3 separate regions of the Homo sapiens genome follow, and regions 2 and 3 are each linked to region 1. Evidence: promoter capture Hi-C in 16 types of primary human blood cells and fetal thymus (Javierre and others, 2016). All regions are on one chromosome and are shown on one strand. Each heading gives the region's core, a stretch centred on a gene start or on the middle of the fragment in contact. The rest is flanking DNA. Distances are from core to core; before and after follow the strand shown. Region 1 holds the start of ADAM12 (ADAM metallopeptidase domain 12). Region 2 overlaps FANK1 (fibronectin type III and ankyrin repeat domains 1). Region 3 overlaps FANK1 (fibronectin type III and ankyrin repeat domains 1).

Region 1 (3,851 bases), core at 836-3,335:
CGTTTTATACGGCCTCAATGGTATGATTTGGGGCACTGATTGATTGAAGACTTGATACTGAGAATCTAAGGGTAAACAAGCAGTGAATCCTGGAATATATCACAATAGGTAACCCATTCAAAGTGCTTAGGCCTCCCTGGTTTTCTATTTTGGGTCATATCTGTCTTAAGGAAACACTCTCTCTACCAAAGCTGAACTCATAAAATAGTAAAAGTCCTCCCCCGCCCACACACACAAGAAATAATTTCCCATTATTAGCTGGATTTAATAAACATTTTCTTCCAAAAAAAAAATTTGTCCCTGCTCAGTAGACTTCTCTTTATGTGTACAAAGCACGTGCCAAGTTAAAGACCATGTCAGGCACACTTTGAGACACTTTCCGTTTTTTAAAAAGTTCTTTCTTAATAAACATTCAAAAGGACCAATTTGTTTAAAAGTCTTTCAAAGCACAATTCACTACAGGTCGTAGAGTTCTTTAAACCCTCAGCAGGATTCTTTCTTGACTTTCTCATTGCTTTGTGCAATCTTTGTATTTAATCATTTATCCCCGAATTGGTCTTCGCAGTGTGGCTTTTAACAAGAACTGGGTTTTAGCCACATTACAGTAGACGCGGTGGGGGCGGAGGGCAGCAGTGGCAATCGCAAAATAAAACGTATCATAAAGTGGTAACGGTTCGTGATTTAGGCCAGTTGTTGAAAAATAAATGCCTGTTATATAGAATCACAGAACTTGAGAGCTTGCGGCCAAGGGAAGTCGTTCATCGGTGGACCGACAGCGCCCCGGGCGGCAGAAAGAAGGCGGCGGCGGCGGAGACCCGGGGAAGTTGCCGGATTTTTAAAAAGGCACCTGCTGGGTGAGTCCTCACTGTGCAAACGGGAGCCACAGGTGCCCGATTTTAAGGGGCTACAACTCGGGAAAACCTAAGTCTGTAAAACTAAGTACGTTAAACTAAGTAAGTTCTCGCTGTGCACCAAGTTGATGGGGGCGATTATTTACGGCGGAGAAACTGAGTGGAGGAAGGAGGGAGAATTCCGCTAAAGTTTGCCTGCGACTGACAGCTAGGGAGTGACCTGGAAGCCAGGAAGAGGGGCAGAGAGGAAACTAAAGAAGTAGGTAAGAGAGTCAGTTTATGAAAATAGAGCCTGCTGTGGAGAGCAGCAGGCACACCTGCGGAGGAGGGGGCTGCCTCACCTGCGGGGCCGCTGCGCGCCCCCCTAAGTGTGTTAGCGGGGGAGGCGGGGCTGGAAAGGAAACCTGGTGAAGGGCTGGCCCGGAGCCTGGGGTGGGGATATTCACTGCGGGATAGGGCCAGCAAGAGGACCCGACACGCATCGTCCCGAGTGACACGTGTAAATGTCAAGATACAGAGACATCTGCAAATGTCACCCAAGAGGGTGAGGACGGGGGAGCGGTCCCGAGGCTGTGCCCTCCGGGGCAGGTACTGGCTCCTGTGGGGCTGCGGGCCAAGTGTCGCCCTTCCCCAAGGAATTGGCACCTGGGGGGGGGGGGTCGGTCTCGCCGCGCTGGAAGCGCAAGCCCCGGGGCTCCGGAGATGCGCCGGGGCGCGTCGCCCCTCGGGGCAGCCCTGGACCTCGGCGCGCCCAGGCGCAGCGTGCGGTGCCCTCGGCGGGGCGGGCAGCGAGCCGCCCTAGTTCGGCGACTTACCTCGGGCCTCGCAGGGCGCGAGCAGAGCACCGGCCAGGGCGAGCAGGAGGGCGCGGGCGGGGGACACGGGCAGCGGGCGCGCTGCCATCGTCGCCGGCCTTCAGTGCAGCAGCTCTCGGGCCCGGCGGCGAGCGCTGCACCATCCCACGCGGGCGCCGAGCCGGGGCCGGGCGTCGCGACCGGAGGGATTTCCTGCCTCGGCGAGTCAGCTCCGGAGCCCTCGCGCAGCGCCCGCGCCGCCGCTGAGCTCTTCTAGCCTTTCATTTTTAAAAAAGTTTCCCCCCGTGTGTGTGCGTGCGTGCGCGCGCGCGCGCCGTTCTGGCACAAGCCAGCCTTGACCGTTGCAATAAATGAGCAAACTGTCCGAGTTGGCCCGGGGACTAGGAAGAGCGTTAGTGAGAGAAGGCAGGCCTGTGAAATGGATCCACGGCCAGCAGTCACCGTTCTTATTACCGCGGAACAAATTATTGTCTCCCCCGCACCCCCGCCAGTTGGCGGCGTCCCGCGGGTCCTAGAGACCGCTCGGGTCCCCCCGCCAGGGTCCCGCCCCGAGCCGCGGCTCGCTCACCCCCGAGGGTGGGCGGCTCAGACGTGGCTCAGTGGCGTCCGGGCGCCCGGAGCGCACACGTCCCCGCCCCAGGATGATGTGGCCGCAGGGCCCGGGGCGCCCGGCTGCCAAGCGCACATGCGGCGGCACGGTCCAGCTTTTCAGGCTGAAGCTGGAAACGATGACTCTGCTACTCGCTCCCCGGCTCTCTGGGAACCCTCGGAGTGCGGGTCAGGTCTCCACCGCGGCCCACAGCCCGGCGCGCGACCCCGCCCGGCCCTAAGCGCCCAAAGGGGCATCTCTCGCCCGAGAAACAAGCTTGGACTCGCAGGCACAAGACACCTGGGCGTTACTTTTGATCAACAGTGTTAGGTTTTACGTTGATAGATTGGCTCACGTTTCCATTCCATGACCTGGACCCAGAAAAGGGTGTACAGTGACGTTCCCCAAACTTTCCTGATTGTAAGAAGCACCTGGGTTGGCTTGTTAAAAAGATTCCCGGGCGCCCTCCTACGCTTTCAGAATGAGACTCTCCAGGCTGTGAGGCCAGGGGAGCCCAGGGTGTTTGGAGAAACACCAATGAAAGAATGGTGCGCCTTGCCTTCTCATCCTTGTTCCGGGCTGACCCCACCTCTTCAGCCTCGCTCGGCCCTCAGGGAGACCATGAAAAGCAGCAGCGAGGGGGCCCGCACAGACAGAAATGGCTGGAGCTATGGAGGATGGCTGATGCCCACCCTGCGGGTTACCATGATTCCCAACCTTGGGGACTTATTAGAATAGTAAGAGTTAAAGACATTGCCAGCCCCAGACACCAGTTAACTCAGTTTCCCACAATGCGTGGAGCTCAATAGTTTTCAAAGCCTCAGGTGATTCTACTGTGCTGCTCAGACCTAGGACCACCTGCAGAAATTCCATCCTGGTCCTGCGACCTCGCACCGATTCCTGACGGAGCACCCACTCCTAGGAGGCGGTTATCCAGCATTTGAGGAAGCTGCCTTCCATACCATCTCTTCCCACTGCAGAGGAGTTTTCTCAGGAGTTCCCTCCCACGGCAGGTTTTGCAGTGTTCCCAAAACCCAGGTCGATCCTCCTAACAAGGTGCAGGACTTTCTTTTTAAAAAACCTTAGTGGGAAGCACAGGCTCTCCAGCCCCCTTCCCAATGCTGCCATATCTCAGTACCAGATCTGGAAACCAGGCCTGGTTCAAGCCCTGTGTCATATCTAACCGTACTACCAACCAGCGTTGCAGTGTACTTCTTTTGTTCATTCATTCAGTCAATCTACATGAGCAACCCTATGTTAGAACTTGGGAAACTAAACGAGAAAGCCTCTTGCCTTCAAAGACTTTTCTTTCTGATCAAACTGATAAATCATCATTATTGGACAGTGTGAGCTAGTTACTTAACCTAGTTAATAATGATTAGGCTTGTTTACTGATATGGTTTGGCTGTGTCCCCACCCAAATCTCATCTTGAATTCCCATGTGTTGTGGGAGGGACCTGGTGGGAGGTAATTGAATCATGGGGGCAGGTCTTTCCTGTGCTGTTCTCATGGTAGTGGATAAGTCTCAAAAGATCTGATGGTTTTAAAAAGAGGAGTTCCCCTCCACAAGCTCTCTCTCACTTTCTGCCTGCTACC
Region 2 (3,851 bases), core at 665-3,164, 430 kb before region 1:
TAAATTAAAAAAAGGGGAAGGAAAATGAATTAAAGGAGGATTTACGTAACTAAAAGACAGTTTTAAAAGAACAACTGCCGACACTCATAACATTAGCAGCAATCGCTTTAGCATTTTGTGTTGATTGCTTTGCTCCACCAAGAATATCTGTGAAACACTCATAATGCTCAAAGTTTTTTTTTTTTTTAATCTTCAACTTTTAAGTTCAGGGGTACATGTGCAGGATGTGTAGGTATGTTACATAGGTGTCATGGTGGTTTGCTGCACAGATCAACCCATCACCTAGGCATTAAGTCTAGCATCCATTAGCTATTCTTCCTGATGCTCTCCCTCCCCACCCACCTCCCCGACAGACCCCAGTGTGTGTTGGTCCCCCCCATGTGACCATGTGTTCTCATCATTCAGCTCATAAGTAAGAACATGTAGTGTTTGGTTTTCTGTTCCTCCATTAGTTTGCTGAGGATAATGGCTTCCAGCTCCATCTATGTCCCTGCAAAGGATATGATCTTGTTCCTTTTTATGGCTGCATAGTTGTAACATCAAAGTTGATGCATCTTATTATTGTGATCTTTTCAGACAGGGTCTTGCTGTGTCACCCAGGCTGGAGTGCAGTGGTGCGATCATGACTCACTGCAGCCTTGACCTCCCAGGCTCAAGAGATCCTCCCACCTCAACCTCCCAAGTAGCTGGGACTACAGGTGTATGCCACCACACCCAGCTAACTTTTGTCGCAGCAGATTTTCGCCATGTTTCTCAGTCTGTTCTCAAACTCTGAGGCTCAAGCAATTCTCATGCCTCACCCTCTCAAAGTGCTGGGATTACAGGTGTGAGCCACTGTGCCTGGCCCCATCTTATTTTTAAATGAAGTTTTAATAAGATCTCAGTTGTATGCTTCATCTCAAGTGATTATTCAGCTCCAAAACAAATCAAGTTCCTTCCAAGTACAAAAGAATCTATGTTCTAAGGCAGTGGAAGGAAGCAGGGTTGGGGAGGATATATCATGTTCAAGGAAAATGAAAAGAACTTAATGTTTTGAAAGACTTCTAGTCAACGGAACTATGACTCATTATCCTGGATGTGATGGGAGGTGGGGGGCATTTAAGCCCACATTCCCACTTCCATTTTAAAGTCAGAATCAGGAGGAAAATGGGGATTGAGATAAAGAATTTTGCTGTATCACAGTTTGGCTGAAAGGCGTTCTGCCTAGCAAGGATGCAGGTGATTTACACACGATCTACTCTTGAAGCTTAAACCAGTACTTCTATGATACATTTTTTGGGGGGGGGGCGGTGGTGGGGGTAAAGGGAGGAAACAACCAGGATGAGGATTGAATATATTTGAAAGGAGATTCAAAGTGATGTTTATTGAGCACTTCACTTTGGAAAAGCAAAAAATCAAAGGCTGTCTTAAAGATTGTACAGAAAATATGATTTATTGGAGATATCCCTTGCCTCCAAGCTCTAATGTTAAGCCTCCAAATATAATGCAAGTTATATTGGTATAGAAAATGGGAAGGAGCAGGCAGATTTATTATGTATGAGCATGAATAATTTTTATCTTTATTGCTTTCCCACTTCAGATCAAGTTGGAATTTTTAACTTTTCACCAAAGATTCTTTGGTTTTACAGAAAATATACCACAGGTACATGAAATGTAATATATTTATTGTATAGGTTTTTAATAGTAGAAAGTAATTTTATAGTTAGGCAGTTTAAAATTAAAATTATAGTTTAGTGGTCATAAGAGTTAGATCATTGTGTGGTAACCTGTGAGTGTGTTTATTTAGCAATGATGGTGACCATGAAGGGACTCGCTCAGGCCATTTAGGAGAATATCCGACAAGCCAGAAGGAAGATGATTTTAATAACCAGGAAAAACGTAAAACTCATTATAGATTTGTATAATAAGGGCGAGTTCGGGGTAGTATAGGCTTCTAATGTACAGTGACAATCTCGCTCTGTTGTCCAGGCAGGAGTGCAATGGCGCGATCTCAGCTCACTGCAACCTCCCCATCACCCTCCCGGGTTCAAGCGATTCTCCTGCCTCAGCCTCCCGAATAGCTAGCCGGGACTACAGGTGTGTGCCAGCACACCCGGCTGTTTTCTATTTTTAGTAGAGACGGGGTTTCACCATGTTAGCTAGGATGGTCACGATCTCCTGACCTTGTGATCTGCCTGCCTTGGCCTCCCAAAGTGCTGGGATTACAGGCGTGAGCCACCGCACCTGGCTTACTGTAGACATCTTTAACATATCACAATCTTCCTTCAAATAATACCCCACTGCTTGATGTTATGCACAAGAACCTTACGACAGTATTCTTCCAGGCCCCAGACTCTGTGCTGTTGTTATCCTCTATGTTGCTTTTGCATATCCTATTAACCTCACAAAACGTTGTTATTTTTGTTGTAGGCAGACAACATATTTTATATTTACCCACATACTTGCCTTTGTTAGGGCTCTTTGTTACTTTGTGTAGATCCAGATTTGTATCTTGTATGGTTTCTCTTCTGCCTGAGGAACTTCCTTTAACATTTTGTATGGTTCAGGTGTATTAGCGATGAGCTCTCTCAGCTTGGTTTATGTTAAGCTTTTATTTTGCCTTTATTTTTATTTTTTTGAGACGGAGTCTTGCTCTGTTGCCCAGGCTGGAGTGTGCTGGCATGATCTCCACTCACTGCAACCTCCATCTCCCAAATTCAAGCAATTCTCATGCCTCAGCCTCCCGAGAAGCTGGGACTACAGGCACCCGGCACCACACCCGGCTGATTTTTGTACTTTTAGTAGAGATGGGATTTTACCATGTTGTCCATGCTGGTCGCAAACTCCTGGCCTCAGGTAATCCCTTCGCCTTGGCCTCCCAAAGTGCTGAGGTTATAGGCGTGAGCCACCATGCCCGGCCTTGCCTTTATTTTTTAAAGATAATGTCACTAGGTAAAGAGTTCTAGTTTGACACACTTTCCTTCTGAGTACTTTTTTTTTAATATTTAAAAAATTGGTTTCTTTTACATTTTTAATTGACTTTTTTGGCCCATATTTATGGGGTATATAGTGATGTTTTGGTGCATAAAGTGTACAGTGATCGCATCAGGGTAATTAGCATATCGTCTGGAACATTATTTTGGGAGGGTGAACATTAAATATTCTCTTTCTAGCTATTTGAAACTATGTATTACTGTTAACTATAGTCATTCTACAGTACTGTAGAACTCTAGAACTAATTCCTCCTATCTAGCTGTAATTTTGTATCCTTTAGCAAACCTCTTCCTATCTCTCTGCTCCCTTTACCCTTCCCAGCCTCTAGTATCCTCTGTTCTCTTTTTTACTTCTGTGTGATCAACATTTTTTTTAGCTTCTGTATTAGTCTGTTTTCACATTGCTATGAAGAACTGCCCGAGACTGGGTAATTTAAAAAGAGGCTTAATTGATTCATAGTTCTGCATGGCTGAAGAGGCCTCAGGAAACTTACAATCAGGGTGAAAGAGGAAGCAGGCATGTCTTACGGGGTTTCGCCATGTTGGCCAGGCTAGGTCTCGAACTCCTGGTCTCAAGTGATTGGCCAGCCTTGGCCTCCTAAGGTGCTGGGATTACAGGCATGAGCCACCATGCCAAGCCTTTTGTAGTTTTTTGAGGAACCTCCATACTGTTTTCCATAGCGGCTATACTACTTTACATTCCCACCAAGAGTGTTTAAGAGTTCCCTTTTCTCTACATCCTCACTAGCATTTGTTATTTTGTCTTTTGATAATAGCCATCCTCCAGTGAGGTGATACCTCACTGTGATTTAGAGTTGCATTTCCCTTTATAATTAATAATGTTGAGCATTTAAAAAATATATTTCTTGGCCATTTGTT
Region 3 (3,851 bases), core at 919-3,418, 380 kb before region 1:
TTTGCATCTTTACCTGGAAACAGGCAAGTGGTCTACTTTTGATTTCACGTTATCAGAAACTGCAAATTTGATTTAGCAAATAGAAGCAGTGTTGTTGGACGTCTATAGATATTTGAAGATGGGTAATTAGAATTAGATCAATTATGGAAATTGCTGGTAACTTTGAAAACTTTATTTCAAGACTTTGAAGAAATTAGCTAAAAATTTCAAAGCATGGAACTAAAGAATGATGGACAAAGTTCTGTGCTATCTGTGACTGCCAGATGGTGTGTAGAGTGCTGAGAAATTAAGTCGATGACCTGGAAAATCAACTCAAATTGAGAAAAGTCATGTCTCCTGGAAGATGTCAGTAGATTTCTTCTAGTTTGTTTCTGAAGGGTAATTGAGGGAAAGTGAGACTGCAGTTATGGGATCTATCTGGTTCCTGCTGCTGCTTTTGGAGAATTAAGAAAAGTGCCCCCTTATAGGAAAAATCTCAGTCATTAAAAATTTATTACATTTCTTATTTTCCTTATGTTTTAGAGACAGGCACAGAGGCAGAAGGCTGAGTCAGTGGGCTTCCATAGTAGAGCCGGGCCCACGTGCCATGTGTGGTAGTGACAGCCACACACTCCTTGATTGGTTTATGATGAATTCTGGGCAGGTTTTGCACCTAGTGAAAGTCTGTGGTTGAAAAAGAAGGTTGTACTTTGCTGAAAGAAGTCAAGCATCGGGGCCGGGCACAGTGGCTTATGCCTGTAATCCCAGCACTTTGGGAGGCCAAGGCGGGTGGATCACTTGAGGTCAGGAGTTTGAGACCAACCTGGCCAACATGGTGAAACCCTGTCTCTACTAAAAATACAAAAATTAGCCAGGCGTGGTGGTGGGCACCTGTAATCCCAGCTATTAGGGAGGCTGAAGCAGGAGAATTGCTTGAACCCAGGAGGTGGAGGTTGCAGTGAGCCAAGATTGTGCCACTGCACTCCAGCCTGGGTGACAGAGTGAGACTCCATCTCAAATAAATAAATCATTCACAATAGGGCAAATCTCTGCTATCAACATTTAAATACTGGAGTTTTGGAAATGTAGGCTCTCTGGGCTTCAGATATGAATATACTTATTTGGGATAAATTCCATCTTTCTTTGAAGCACTGGAACTACTTTGCAGAGGACAGAACAATAAGCATGGATGTGTTTACTATAGATTTCCACATGACTGGCCTGGTGGCGGATGGATGATGTCAACATGAGTCTTTCCATATTCTGGCAGGTGGCTCACCTGATGCTTCTGAAGCCCATGGGAAGGACTTGAGAGCCAATCACCACCTTCTTCCCAAATGTAATGATCATATACTAAGAGTGACTTATTTACTTGGCGACTGACTTATTCATTTGTGCATTTAATGATCCATGTGATCTCAGGAAAGGCACTTCTCTGAGGTTTATTTTGATTGTTTGTAAACCAAGAATAAAAATACCTACCTCTGATTAACGTTTAGGACCAAAAGAGAAAGTGTGTGTAAAGAGGGTTGAAAGCTGTGTAAAGCATCATGTAATATGAGGTGCTTATTTTATTATTCTTTAAATATAATGGAGTGTGTTGCCCACAGGTTAGTTCTTTGCATGAAGAAGAGCTGCAAATCCAAATCATGTTACAGTGGATAATCTTATATGTAGAAATACCCTGAAGTGCTCCCAAGATCTCCTGGAAATTCCTTGTTTGTTTTTCCATTCTGATGTTTTACTAAAGCTATGGATCATCTTTGAGTAATTCTTCTGTAACAGATTGTGTGTGTGCGTGCACGTGCTCATGTGTGCTTATGTGCACATGGTATGCGTGTGTGCACACACGAGTGTGTGTGCGTGTCTGAGCACAAACACGTATCTGTCTTTACTTCAGCACCACTCTTCATGGATTGGCGATGTCTTCATTGGAATTGGAAGCGACAATATTTACATTTTCTTAATCTAAAATATTTATTTTAAAACACTAAATTGAGAGATTTCAGTGTAGAGAAGATGATCAGGAAACAGCCATCTGATTACTGGGCACACTGTTTTGGAGAAGCCTTTAGTCAGACTTTTCAGACAGAGTTTGTGTAATGAATCTGGTTGTTCTGTATTTTACCTGTAGGTCTCCTGCCTAAAATTGATAAGTATTAGTAAGTATAAGTGTGTATATATATTATTACTGTCTTGTTCCAGAAAGGATGTAAAGCTGCTTACAACAATACATAAAAGTAAGAAAAATGAATGCTAGGTGAGGAAAGTTAGGCAAGAGAAAATAAGAACTCCCCAGGGGCCAAGTGGAAAGTAGTTCAGTTAACTTTTCTAGCCCATCTTTTTTCCACTTTAAAGGATGTAGATGAAGAAGCCGGTGGGGAGACCCTGGGGCCTCTCAGCACCAAAATGTGACTTAAATTAGCACAGTGCAATGAACCAAATATAGAAAGACGGCTATCTAAGTCCGGGTGTTGGGGCAAGCAAATATTCCTTTTATAAGTTTGAATCATTTTAAGAAAAAGAAATTGGGCTCAACACAGCTGTTTCTCTGGCCCAACAGGTAGACGTCGTGGACACTGGTTCAGGATGGACCCCACTCATGAGAGTCTCTGCGGTGTCGGGAAATCAGAGGGTGGCCTCTCTTCTAATTGATGCTGGGGCCAATGTGAATGTGAAGGACAGAAATGGAAAGACGCCCCTTATGGTAGGTCCTCCTCCCGAAAATAGGCAGTTTTCTACGTGGAATTAATGTCAGAGCTTTTTCTGTAATTAGACAATTCTTGTGAGTTCAGCCCTGCACCAGCCCTTGGGTTTGACTGTGTGTGTGTGTTCCCTGTCGGCTTGTTCATAAGGGCATGAGGCTGTCACTAGAATACTTTCGTTGTCTTTTTACAACTATTTAAGGACTAAAGAACCCCTGTCCCCAGGACCACTGTGGGATCAAAACAGAACTGGTGAAACAAAGAACAAGCTGCTTTCTGTTCTGGTTTTAGTGTGGATAGAGGGAGTCCATTTTCCATTTTCTCTGGAGTTGCTACCATACAGCTGCAGAGGAAGCGCTGTGCCTGCAGGCCATGCAAAGCCACAGTGGTCTTTTGGGGTTGCAGGGGGGCTGCTGGGACCCTGCATGTGCCAGGCTCATGCCCCCTGCTGTGTGTGCCCTGGAGGGAGAAGCTCATGCACACCACCCTGGGTTTTGTTTTCTAGGTGGCTGTGTTAAATAATCATGAAGAGTTAGTTCAGTTACTTCTTGACAAAGGGGCAGATGCAAGTGTAAAAAATGAGGTAAATGAGTCCATCTTTATGTAAAGATTTTCCTCGGAGGGGGAGAAAACATTTATAAGCATGTAAAATTTTTGTTGTTTCCTGTTTCAGTTCGGCAAAGGTGTCCTAGAAATGGCCAGAGTTTTTGACAGACAGGTTGGGATGCTCTTTCTGCCTATCAAGGCTAATTTTTAGTCCTTCTAGACTCAGAAAAACCACCAAAACCCTGGATTACATTCGCCTGTCTGTTTTGTTTATCTAGAGTGTAGTCTCCTTATTAGAAGAAAGGAAAAAAAAGCAGAGGCCAAAGAAGTCTTGTGTCTGCTGATGAGAGCACCACTCATCTGCGAAACGCACGTAAAACAAAGTGAACCGTGACTGTTAAACTAGGGATGGGAAATTCTGCATCTTGGGGGGCTGTACATTTATTTATTTAGTTGAAGATTCACTGATCCCACTTTGAAATACATCTTTTTACCTAAGCATGTGCGTATGTGGTACCATCATTGGGTGTCTGTAGAATGGGGATGTTTTCTTGCACTTGCGCCTTTTGGAGTTAGACATGAAACAAAATATTTATGCACCGGAGCTACACAAACACACAT

The links. The method cuts DNA at HindIII sites, captures the fragments that hold promoters and counts their contacts. A CHiCAGO score of 5 or more calls a contact.
Region 2: a contact is called between a fragment that was not itself captured here and the fragment with the promoter of ADAM12 in region 1, in 5 of 17 cell types (M1 macrophages, M2 macrophages, endothelial precursors and 2 more). The highest score is 9.5, in M1 macrophages.
Region 3: a contact is called between a fragment that was not itself captured here and the fragment with the promoter of ADAM12 in region 1, in 2 of 17 cell types (M0 macrophages and M1 macrophages). The highest score is 5.1, in M0 macrophages.

Annotation. Positions count from the first base shown.
Region 1 is chr10:126,386,392-126,390,242 of GRCh38, forward strand. ADAM12 (ADAM metallopeptidase domain 12) reads right to left here and starts at 2,086. Exons shown (of 23, transcript NM_001288973.2): 1 at 1,667-2,086. The coding sequence starts at 1,754. The HindIII fragment of the contact is 6,902 bases long and covers 1-2,529 here.
Region 2 is chr10:125,954,926-125,958,776 of GRCh38, forward strand. The region is part of intron 1 of FANK1 (fibronectin type III and ankyrin repeat domains 1); the gene reads left to right. Among named protein-coding and RNA genes, the nearest start is that of FANK1-AS1, 16 kb to the right of the region's middle. The HindIII fragment of the contact is 1,341 bases long and covers 1,245-2,585 here.
Region 3 is chr10:126,005,865-126,009,715 of GRCh38, forward strand. FANK1 (fibronectin type III and ankyrin repeat domains 1) reads left to right here. Exons shown (of 11, transcript NM_145235.5): 8 at 2,543-2,686; 9 at 3,190-3,267; 10 at 3,358-3,402; 11 at 3,509-3,728. The coding sequence ends at 3,574. Among named protein-coding and RNA genes, the nearest start is that of FANK1-AS1, 35 kb to the left of the region's middle. The HindIII fragment of the contact is 4,731 bases long and covers 1-3,851 here.